Regions from separate parts of the Homo sapiens genome. Here regions 1 and 2 are each linked to region 3. Evidence: promoter capture Hi-C in 16 types of primary human blood cells and fetal thymus (Javierre and others, 2016). All regions are on one chromosome and are shown on one strand. The core of a region is centred on a gene start or on the middle of the fragment in contact, and the rest is flanking DNA. Distances in the headings are between cores, read along the strand shown.

Evidence for each region. The method cuts DNA at HindIII sites, captures the fragments that hold promoters and counts their contacts. A CHiCAGO score of 5 or more calls a contact.
Region 1: a contact is called between the fragment with the promoter of DTWD2 here and the fragment with the promoter of TMED7 in region 3, in 1 of 17 cell types (total CD8 T cells). The highest score is 6.0, in total CD8 T cells.
Region 2: a contact is called between a fragment that was not itself captured here and the fragment with the promoter of TMED7 in region 3, in 1 of 17 cell types (total CD4 T cells). The highest score is 8.5, in total CD4 T cells.

Annotation. Positions count from the first base shown.
Region 1 is chr5:118,987,098-118,990,787 of GRCh38, forward strand. It overlaps DTWD2 (DTW motif tRNA-uridine aminocarboxypropyltransferase 2), which reads right to left and starts at 1,450. Exons shown (of 6, transcript NM_173666.4): 1 at 1,197-1,450. The coding sequence starts at 1,414. RefSeq lists a silencer at 1,034-1,363. The HindIII fragment of the contact is 4,492 bases long and covers 1-2,291 here.
Region 2 is chr5:112,161,867-112,166,008 of GRCh38, forward strand. It overlaps EPB41L4A (erythrocyte membrane protein band 4.1 like 4A), which reads right to left. Exons shown (of 23, transcript NM_022140.5): 23 at 753-3,252. The coding sequence ends at 3,124. EPB41L4A-AS1 (EPB41L4A antisense RNA 1) reads left to right here. Exons shown (of 3, transcript NR_015370.2): 3 at 285-635. Among named protein-coding and RNA genes, the nearest start is that of SNORA13, 2.5 kb to the left of the region's middle. RefSeq lists an enhancer at 3,598-4,142. The HindIII fragment of the contact is 2,122 bases long and covers 190-2,311 here.
Region 3 is chr5:115,623,587-115,627,486 of GRCh38, forward strand. TMED7 (transmembrane p24 trafficking protein 7) reads right to left here and starts at 2,450. Exons shown (of 3, transcript NM_181836.6): 1 at 2,015-2,450. The coding sequence starts at 2,206. TMED7-TICAM2 (TMED7-TICAM2 readthrough) reads right to left here and starts at 2,450. Exons shown (of 4, transcript NM_001164469.4): 1 at 2,015-2,450. The coding sequence starts at 2,206. RefSeq lists a silencer at 2,106-2,175 and an enhancer at 2,346-2,515. The HindIII fragment of the contact is 9,571 bases long and covers 1-3,900 here.

The sequences.
Region 1 (3,690 bases), core at 200-2,699, 3.4 Mb after region 3:
TAGCCTTTGATTTATATTTGAAACACTTTTCCTCCAGTATCCTATTGAGACCCCTCCAAACATTTTTAAATGCTTCCCCAACCCCCTCAGACGACTTGTTTAAATTAATTGTATTCACAAACCCCTATGTTCAAATTCACAGTCCCTTCTAATCACAAATTTTCCATCCTCCTCAGAGGTTTACTGAGCGTCAACTATACATAGTACATTTAGAAAATATAAAAACATTCTACATTCAAGATCCTTTCCTCTGAAGTCTTACAATCCAGCCCTAGGAAAAGGTCAAAATGTCCAAAGTGTGATACTCCAAGTATTCAAGCAGTAAAGATCTTCAACCATATTCAGTCCTTCTGTTCCCCTTCTTGGAATGCTTTTCCCCTGGCTGGATTCTTCTCATCTTTCAAATCTCAGAGATAGTTCATGACACCATTGAGCTATTTTCTACAGTAGCAACCCATTCCTTTCCTTCACTGCTTTTTTCCCAGTTTGTAATTACATATTTGATTGCTTGTTTGCTGGTTTATTATCCGTATCCAGTAAGAGAATACTCTACAAAAACATGAACTCCACTGCATTGTCAGTGATTACCAAAGCACTCAATAAACACCTGATAAATTAATGCACAGGTCTGGTGTTCCGAAGAAAGGTCTGAGCTAGACACACTGGGATATAGATGATAATTTACCATGAAAACTGATTTTATAAATTACCAGTGGGACGTATGTAGGGTTTGAAGAGAACCTAGAATGAACACCTGAAAAGGCCCTATATTTAGAGTTCTGGTAGGATAGGTAAAGGAGACTGTCTCTCTCCTCCAATCCACTTTATGCTTTTTAACTGTGATATAACTATGCCACTTAAATATGACTGTGTAACTATTTTACAAGTATTACTGTCATCACCCCTTACTTCCCCTATTGGACGCTTAAGTTTCTTGGAAACAGAACTGATGTCTGCTCATCCCATGATACGCTCAGCATATTGCAGGAAGTAAGGTTAGATAATCATGAACCTGGAAAAAGGGCTTCTTACTAGGTAGCTGTGCCTGGCATTTCCGAGATTTCCAACGTGCACCCGCCAACTCCGCCGCCCTAATCGCAGAGCTGCCCGAGCCGCCGACTCCCCGGCAGGGGGCGCCGCACCCTCCTCCGAAGGCCGCTGCCGGCTGCAGTCCCCGCCCCCAGCCCCGCGGTCACCTGCAGCGGGTGCACTCAGGCCTCCGCTCGGCCGGCTCCACCGGCAGCTCCCACAGCCCGTCCGCACTGTCGTCGTCCGCCTCTGCGCCCAGGGCAGCCGCCGCCGGCACTGCGCCGCCCTCCCGCCGCTCCTTGTCGTTCGGCGTCTGAGAGCTTGAGGCCCCAGAAGGCCGCGCAACGGGCTCCTGGAGTGTTCGTGCCTCTTTCTGCGACTCCATGGCGGACACTCCGGTCAGGCCGTGGCATTGAAGCCCGGCTGCCGCCGGGGGGCGCCACGCGCTGTAGAAACCGGCCCGCGCCGCGTAGCGCAATGCCCGCACGCCACGTACGGGGGGCGGGTCTCCGAAGCCCAGGCTGGAGGTCCCACCCTGCCGCTGGGAAGGAACGAGCCCATTGGTCCGTGCCCAGTGGGACCGTTCACCTAGAACTGGGTAGGCAAGTGTGGGCAGTGTTGGAGTGCTGGTGAGGTTAAGTAGCGTCATTGGGAGAGGTAAGGGAAACCTCCCCGAGAGGACCCCAGTACCAAGCCCGAATTTAACTCCTTTAAAAGTTAAAATAAAATGGAATTCTGCATTTTCCGCCTTGGGATGGCAGTTTAAGAATTTGCAGGATTTCCACGCGTGCATGCATCGCAGGTGCGGCAGCTGATGCACTTATTATTTAAAGGCCAACAAAGGAGAGGTTATATCCACTGGGAACTACTCACAGCTGGTCCGTTTCCTTATGTGAATTTCCTGCTCTTCTATGTCTTGTGCTAATAAGACATCAAGCATGCTATTTTACACTGGACACCAGATATTTGTTAAATTAGATTTTTAGATCGTCCCCGATCAGGAAGCAATAGGAGAGCTGGCCCGGGGTACCAATAGGTTTTATGTATGAGGAAACAAGCCCTAGAAAGGTAACGTTGCCCAGGTATTTAACAACTACTGGATACGGCGGTATATAGCACAGCAGCTGTTTTTTAAAAGCCAAAATGAAATCTATGTTAGAATGAAGGCAGAAATACTATTTACCCAAAATGGGTATCGAATTCCTTTTGTTTATTAATGCTTTGTGTTACTTCCAGCAATACACAACATTAAAACAGAATTAAGCTTGGTTTTGATCAATCATGTGAATTAAGCTTAGGAATCACAGTTGTCTTAACTCTATAGTTGTAATAGATTAAATGTGAGGCAAAGTAGACAACACAGTAATAGAGCAAATACTGTATTTCTTAAAATGTTTATTTCACATTAGATTTTTCAGTCATCTTAAAATCAAGTTTGTGAATAAAATACCGTGCTGTTTTCAACTATCCTACGTTCTTTCCCCCCGGAAACAGCACCTCTCTTTTCCTTTGGAGCGTCCTATGTGAGGGATAGAAAAAGGCTGAAACACCCACCTGGTGATGGACGTAGAGTGGGAGAAAGAACTAGCAATTATGCCATTTGGAATCGGAGGATAAACAAAATCCAGAAACTGTAGGAAAGGAGATGAATCAGAAAATTCATCTTGTCTGTAGATTTAGGTTGGGGAACCAATTCTTTAACTGCCAAAATTAAATTCTCATGTGACTTATCTTTAAACGAAAGGAAGCTGCTCATCTTTAATTTCAAGAGGTGAAATGTGCTCAAGTCCTCTAAGGTCCCTTGAGACTCCCAATTGTGTGGTGTGAGAAGACAGATGATAAGGAAAAAAAAAAAAACTTTTTATCTAAGGAATGCGAGCAGTCATGTCTCACTCTCCCTTGAGCTAAATAATTACCTCTTGAAGGCACTTGCTATGCAGGCCCTAGACTGACACCGAGTAGCCATAAAACGCCGTATACCCTATAGTTCAACAATATGTATAGCCAATCACTAACCAATGTTATTTCTGTAAATAAATGACACTTCCTGAGACATAGCTTTTGTAATGCCCCCCTCTGCTGATTCGTTCTCTTTTCTTTAAAAACTCCAGCCCATTTTGTTCTCCAGAGCACTCTCCACAGCAACCTGGAAGTACGACCTAGGCTACAGTCCTCAACGTTGGCCCAAATAAACTCTCTATATTAATTTTGCCTCTGCTCCTTCCTTTTAGGTTGATGTGAGCCTACTTACTTGGGGCTTCCTTTTAACACCCCATATCAGATTATTGGCTTTACCCTTCAAAGTATTCAAAATCCAAACATTTATCTCACCTACTACTTCTGCCCTGGTTCAAGCCCCCGTCATCTCTTGCATAGAATATTGCCAAAGACCTAAGTGGTCTCCTGCTCCATCTCCGCTCCTTATGAAGAAAATCCCCTACAAGTCCATTGTCTCAGAGGCTGACCAAAATCAAAGAAAGCTTCCATCCAGGCAAGACACAGAGTTGAGAAAGGAGAGCCATTTTCCTCTATAGGAAGCAAGAAATTCACCCAATATCCAGGTTTGTGAACAATGACCTTCAGACGCCTGAGGAAACATGCAGGTGAGGTTACCACCTTGGGGCAGACCCAGGTATCAGACCATCAGTGACTCAGCTTCTG
Region 2 (4,142 bases), core at 1-2,500, 3.5 Mb before region 3:
GTACATTCGTAGTGTTGCTCTGTCTGTAGCTATTAAGGTGAGTTAATAAATGGGATAGCCTCCACAGCTTATTTTTGGGAAGGTTTTGCTGATACTTCCTGAGAAGCCCAGGGAAATAAATACGCATAGTACTGGCATTCTGCATCTCTTTAAGATTTGTTTTTATGTGTAGTAATTGAGTTTTTTAAAAGCTTGTGAAATCGCAGGCATATTACCAAGTTCTTGATTAAAATGTAATACAAAAATATTTGCTGTCGAATTGAGTACTTTATTTTTTCTCTTAGGATGTCCTTGGTGAGGATTTTGAAAATTTGATCTTCACAAGAGTTGCCTGGATCATTTGAAATTTCTGGGAGTCTGAGGAGTACTGACATAATTACCTGCTGGAGTCTGTAAATACACATTTAAGACAGTGAGGATGTGAATAAATATATTAATGCACTTTGGCATTTGTGTTTTAAGTGATTAACTGCCAGAAACAGCTATTTCTAAAAAGTTATAAGGGAGGAGGGGTTCTTTTTTGATCAGTATTCACTGCTGTCACCATAATTAATAGCCTTAAAATAGCTTGTGTTTGGCCCAAAGAGAAATGTACTTTCTTCCAGTGACTCAAAAATCGTGGCTAGAACTAGACTGATTTCTAGTGACAGGTGTGCTTTACTGCACTCAATGCGTATTTTTCCTCCAACTAAATTGTACATTTAATGTTGCCATATCTTCTGCCTTTGCTTTGCAGGAAACGACAAATAATGTATAGAGGTATTCAAAAAATTTATTGAAAGCACTGTACTAGGAGCTGAGAACACGATGATGAGCACAACACAGTTCTTCCCTTTGGAAACATAGATAAGTGGAGGGAATGTCATCACAAATGTAAAACTTCACTATGAGATGAGTTCCGTGATAGGATTTTCTTAGGGAAACCTGAGAAAGAGTTGAGACTAAAGGTATGTGTCATATTTTTCACAAGGCAAAACTGGGGGAATGACATATACAGAGGCTTGGGCTAGAAAAAAGATACCGTTAGTCCACTTACTTTTGAGACAGTTTTGGCTGCTTTCCCTCTTCAGTGCCCTGTTTTAGAACTGAGTCCTTACTGAGGCTTGTAAGATGGCTATTATGGGAGGTGAGAGTGTTACAAAATGAGGCTGAAGAGGTAGGTAAAGAAGCCAGACCACTTCAGGCTCCCTCTGGCTTTATTAAAGCAAGATAAATCCATGGTGGAAAATCAGATTTGCAAGAAAAGGTAGTTGAACTAGGTTGCTTATTGTTGTCTAGACAAGAGACCAGCTTGGACTAGTAAAATTAGTGAAATAAGATCGTTTATAGTTGGATGACAGAGCCAACTAGACGTGGTAATAGTGGAGGTGTCCATAACTGCTAGGTGTCCAGCTTGCACACTGATGAGCATAATGACCCTAGATTCAGCTGGGGAGCAGCATTTAAACAGCTGAATTTTTAAATTACCTTTGAGAAACCCAAATGGTCTTTTTGCAGTAGCACATTACTCAGTAGTCTAAACTACAGAAATAAACCTTAAGGCCATGGGTATAAATGAGATCTGCTGGTGGTAGAGGAAGAGGGCCTAGGGTCTGAAGTTTGAGAAACTCCACTAATTAATGGCAAGGTAAAGCATGATAAGCCAGAAAGGATGGTCAGTGGTAGGAGCAAAATAGGATTATATTAAAGAAGCAAAAGAATGTCCTAAAAATTCTCCCTGGGATTAAGTAACACAGTGATTGATATTAGTGGAGTAGAGGGAAAGATCCATGTTAGAGATAGCTTAAGATAGGGATTAGATGAATTGAGGGCAATGACTAAAGATACTGCTTGCAAGAAAACTGGCTGAGAATGAGAGGAAAATCTTAGTTGCTTGGCGGGAGGGGGTTTGTGGTTGTGAAAGATAGTTTTGTTTAATCTTAGTCTTAAATTTAAAACCAAGTAGCAAGGATCTAGCTGAGAGAATAATTGAATACATTAATATAGGAGGACAGACAAAGATCCTGAAAAGGCTGGGAGAAGAGCATCCAAAGCACAGGTGGAGAGACAAAAAGGTTAGGGCTGCTGGCAGCTGTGGAGAGAACTGTACGTGGTAAGGGGGAGATATAAGATGTCCTGCATAAGTATTTTCCCTGTAGATTGCAAAGTCATCTATGGAGAGGAAAGGTACAAAATAGTCACTGGGGAGAGCAGGTGAATTAGATGGCCAAGCAGGGTGGATGGATCATTTGAGGTTTGGGGTGACAGATCAACTGAGATCCACTTACACTTCTGAAAACGCAAGAACACTTTAGAAATTAACAACACTTAAAGCTTTTTACATCATTTGTAAATAACTGGTGGAACTTAACACCACAAAATAAAGTATTATAAAGAACTTTATATGAATAAAAATATATGCAGTCTGAAAGTGATGCCTCAGTCCTTTTGCATCTGGGCACTAGTTGAGAACCAGCCCAGCCCTGGGAAGACGTCCTCCCACTTGTACTATTGCACAGCAGGCTAGCTGCAGTTCAGAATTCCAGAATGTTCATCAGATGCATCTGGTCTTGGTTGTGGTGGACACAGACACAAGATAGAAATGAATGATTGCTATCCTGTTCCAGAAATGAAAATGTGGTATCAAGTGAATTTTTACAAAATACTTATTCTTCCAGTTAAAACAAAAAGGTCCTTCAGCACAACTGTGCTGTAGTTAAACCATGGCCTATAATCCCAGCACTTTGGGAGGCTGAGGCAGGCGGATCACTTGAGGTCAGGAGTTCGAGACCAGCCTCCAACATGGCAAAGCCCTGTCTCTACTAAAAATACAAAAAGAATTAGCCGGGTGTTGTGGTGCACGCCTGTAATCCCAGCTGCTCGGGAGCCTGAGACAGGAGAATCGCTTAACCCAGTAAGTGGAGGCTGCGGTGAGCTGACACGGTGCCGCTGCACTCCAGCCTGGGCGACAGAGTGATAACATCTCAAAAAAAAAAAAAAAAAGAAGCAAAAGATAATGTATTTTCTCATGCTGAAGAAATACTTGCAGGTCTGAGATTTGAATTAAGATACCTATTTCACAGTTTCAAAAGTACCAGTGGCGCACACAACCTTCCCACCCCTACCCTTGACCCTTCATCAGGATCAAGTCTCTGTCTTGAGGCGGGAAGCTTGTATAGTTTTTATTGTTTTTGCTGTGTGTTTTCCAGCCAGGTTGTTTGTAGATGTCTGAGGTTTTTCTTCCATCAGGCTATCTTTAGACCCATTTCTTCTCTAAAATATATTTGAAAAATGTAGAAAGATTCAGAAGAAAACAGCCAAATGAAGTATTTTAATTACATCAGAAACCAAGCTGCTCTTAAATTTAAGATACTGAGTTAATTCAAAAGTTTCATAATACCAAAAGCTATTCAATAAATGTTCCCTCTAAATAGCTGTGCAAAATAAAGTTTGTATTTAAACTTTAATATACAAAGTTAGTCTGACATTTACATGCATAACGATTTTATTCATGAATATTAGGCATAATTCACCCAAATCAGTGTCATTACTTTTGTTAACAATTCCCAAACCAGGCTCTCAACCTCACTCTTCCAAACAGGATAGTGATGGAGACTTGGAGGCAATTTATAATCCCCTGATTATATTTTCAGTAGTCAATGAATGGAACAATGTCTTGTGAGCCCCTATCACTTGTCTCATACGGAGAAACAGGGCAGCTCATTACCAGAGCCTGGGCACCACATCCACTAGTTTGTAAAACTTAGGTTTTACACATCTCCCATCATCACTGGTGGAGGCTCTGAGAATGACACTAACTCACAACTACTACTTCTTATGCGAACCCCTCCTCCTCTTACTTCCAAGGATGGTCTAACATTGTCAGTGTATCAGGCTGGCAAGCATATTTCCTTCCCCAAATGTATATTCCCATAAATAATGGGCTATACCGTCCCAATCTATTTTGAGATTTGTTTGAGCTAAAAATAAATAAATCCCTCTTAAAATGCAGCTACCTTTAATCTGTTCCTATGACTGGCTTAATTTGTTTTACTGACATTCAAAAAGCACTGATGGAATAATTATTCTGCCTATCATGGGAAGCATGAACCCATCTATTTGGGATGGAAGATTTCTAGATAGCCAGAGGTGGGAAGAGAACA
Region 3 (3,900 bases), core at 1,200-3,699:
ATTTTCAATGCCATGCACAAATGTTAGCAATATAGCTCAGGCTAATTTCAGGCCTGCTGGAACTGTCATGAACATATCTGCCTGGGGCCCCTTCTTCTCTCCTCTGCCGCCTTGTAGAGCAACGGCTACTTATCTTGCAGACTCACCTCTAACATCAGCTCCTCAGCTAAATGTCCCCTGATGATCCTTCTGTCTCCTGCCAGCACTATACCTAGTGTGTACCTTTATTGTCACATTTAACATTTTATGACTATATATGTCTGTGTAAGCTCTCTGAGATCAAAGTCAGTCTCTGGGAGGTAGTATAATAAAGTGGTTAAGAATTTAACTTGGGACTGCGTTACTGATTTAGCTACTTCTACGTTTTATGCCCTTGGTTCTTAGCCTATCTAAACCTCAGTTTCATCAGTAAAAAAGGAGTAAGAGCTATAACAATTTCATATCGGGCTTTCCTGAGAACATACCTGAAATGCTTAACATACTGTCTACACATAACAGATGCTAATTTGTTAGCCATTGTAGTAGTATCCTTAGCACTAATCACTGAGTCTGCATACACAAAAATCCAGGAAATGTTTATTAAATTCAAACAAAGAAAATGTCGGCTTATACTTTTTATCACAATTCCTGCTATCTTCTTTTCTGTCCCCTGGTGCTAATCCATGAAGGTAAGTAAGCCTAAGGGTCATCCTTGGCCTCCCCTCCCTGACCCACTATAGCCAAATCATTACCAAGTCCTGTTGATTCTACCTACTACCTTCTCTCCAATCCTTTCACTTTTCATTTACCCCACTGCTATCACTCTACTCTAAGCCACTATCATTTCTTGTCTAGACCACCATAATAACCTCCTAATCAGCCTTCCACATCCGCTCTGCAACATCTTACCATCACTTCTCTACCTGCACAAGTTATTATTAATGCAGCTACCAAGAATATTCTCGTCATATCACTGAACTGCTTATAACCCTCTGATGGCTTCCTACACTTTCAGGAAAAACAAATCCTTAACATGGTCAGCAAGACACTATCTGGCCTGCCCCTGCTGACCCCCTTGCTCTGGCTCCTTATTCCCAACCATATTGGACCTCTCTCTATGGCCCTGAAATTCTCAGTGTTCACTACTACCACAGGCTATTCCCCCTCCTCCCTTACCAAGGTGTTTATAGCTCATCCTTTAAAGTTCAGCTTAAAATAATTTTCCAAAGGAAGTCTTCCTTCATGGATCCTACTTACTGCTCTTAAGGCACAGTTCTGATGAATGAGCAGATACCAGTTAAGAAAAGCAGGGTGAGAGGGGAATCATGAATGATGGCAGTGACCCTATCTGTTTCGACCACTTCTGTACCACTGGCACCTAGTATTCAATAGCTACTCAAATGTTAAATGCGCCTACCAACCAAAATTGAAGCTCAGTAAAGACTGTTCTAACCAACCGAATAAACCACATTCTGTTAAAGTTTCTTTTTTATATAATCCCAAATATCAGAAGGGGCCTCTCATTTATCACAGCAATTCTTTCTACAACTCCCTTGGCAAATGGCCGTTCAACCTGTAATGGAGCTCTTCCAATGACAAGGACCGTATTAACCAACAGTCCTAATATTGGTAAAACTGAAAAGCAATGAAGTTAGACATTGGCAGCACTCCAAATCCAATTAAATTGGAGGTGTGGATTAGAGAGTAGAGGGTTGACACTGGGTACTACAGAGTATAAATGATTTTCTTTAAGGGAATCTTTTAAGGAAGAAAGTTCAATAGGCCTTAAAAATGAGATGGAAAGAAATGCTAAAGGGAGCATTTCTGGAATTCATATATTTTAACACCCGGTCTTAACATCTCTCACCCAAGGTTTATTAGAGGAAAGTCAAATGCTGGGCATCAGCTACCTAGAAGCGATTTTTGAATTAGCCTAAGAACGGGGAAACACGGACAGGAAAGTGCCATCCCTCAAGTTACACCCCCAATCCTGGAGCCGCGAGTTGGGGCCCAGGGACTGCTAGGCCCCTGATACCTGGAACTCCAGGGTGCACTTGGTGCCCTGAGCGATGTCCTCGTAGAAGCACTGCTTGGCGTTGTCAGGAAGCTCGAAGGTGATCTCAGAGGCGCCGCCGGGTCCAGGCACCAGTAGCAGCAGTGCGAGCAGCCTGCACCCCCAACGGCCCGCGACGGCCGCCCAGCGCTGCGCGGACCCCGGCCGCGGCATCCCGAGAAGGCGGCGGCGGCCTCAACCGAGCTGCGAGACGCAGGGTCAGGTCTGCGCGGACTCACCGCGCGCGGCAGGCCTCAGCGCAGGCCACCCCGCAAAGATACACAGCAGAGCAGGTTCACGCCTGTGGGAGATTCGGGATCAGAGCGACCCTCCGGCTTCCTGTGAGGGGCGCAGACGGGCGGACCTGGGGAGGTAAAAGAGAAGCGGAAAAGGCCTGAGAGGGTCGGAAGTGGGGATTAGCCTTTCGGGGGGTGAAGGGGCGGAGCCTGAGACACCGGCTCCCGTGACCCGGATGCGTTCTTCTCCGGGAACACGCGTTGGAGTGCGTACGTGGAAGCCCGCGAGGCGTTGGCTCTGCCTCCGTTGCAGCCTGGGACGAGGGGCGGGGCCAGAGTCGTGGGCGGAGAGGGGCGAGACCAGGAAACGGGGCGTGGCGGCCGCCGTGGTTACAGGCGGTTGGCGAGGGTAATTACGCTCCAATCACTGGCTTTTTTTGTTGTTTTTTTTTTTTTTTTTTTGAGACAAGAGTCTCGCCCTGTCACCCAGGCTGGAGTGCAGTGGCGCGATCTGCGCTCACTGCAACCTCCGCTGGGAACTTAGCGCTGGGGAGCATCTAGGGAGTGGTAAAGGGCTCATTTTGCCCTAGGGTGCTAATCGTTGGTGGTAGAGCGCTTTGCAATTTGCGGAGTTTTCTCATAAGTAATAATAAATATTTGGGGGAAGCAGCTGGGCAAGGAGCGCGAATTCTAAGAGCAGACTGCAGGAGTGCTTAATCCCTGCTTTGCCACGTACTGGCTGTGTGACGTCCGGCCACTTGCTTAAATTCTCTGCCTCAGTGTGTATCTGTAGAATGGAGATAATAGCACCTACCATAGAGAATTATTACAAAGTACCAATATTTGGAAAAAGTACCTAGAAGTGGTTGGTACATAGCAAGCACTAGATGAACTTTTGTTAAATTAAACGTCACAGTGCAATCAATACATTACATACCACAAGATAGGCAAAAATTTTAAGTGTAACAATAACAGATATTGGTCGACTTATAGAGCCACAAAACCTCTTATACACTGCTAGTGAAAAAGTAAATTGGTTAATCAAGTTGGAAAACAATGTGCCATTATCTAATAAAGTAGAATATATGTATACACACACAGAACACACACACCTATATACAGTGTGTGTGTGTGTGTGTGTATATATGTATATATATATATATATATATAGCCTGGAATATGTAGCCACAGCCTGGAAATTCCATTTTACATATATTTATGGAGTATATGCTTTAGAGCAGTGGTTCTCAAGTGTTGCTCTGAAGTCCCCAGAAGCCTCCTGAAACCCTTTCAGAGGGTATGTAATGATCTGTATGAAGCTGGATTTTCATTATATATTTCAACCAAAACAGCATAACAGATTGAATATCAAAGGAAATGAGCACCCAGCTTCTTCCTTAAATCTAGATATGAAAGATTTACAAAAATAAGGTCACTCTTCTTGCTAAATTTTTATTTCGAAAATATTTTTATTAAAAGATGTGTTATTTATGTAAATGTGTGCAGTGAGTTGAATTGTGTCCCCCTAAAAAATACATGTCCAAGTTTCAACCCCTCCACCCCTGTGAATATGATTTTATTTGGAAATAGGGCTTTTGCAGATGTAATTAAGTTAAGGCCCTCAAGATGAGG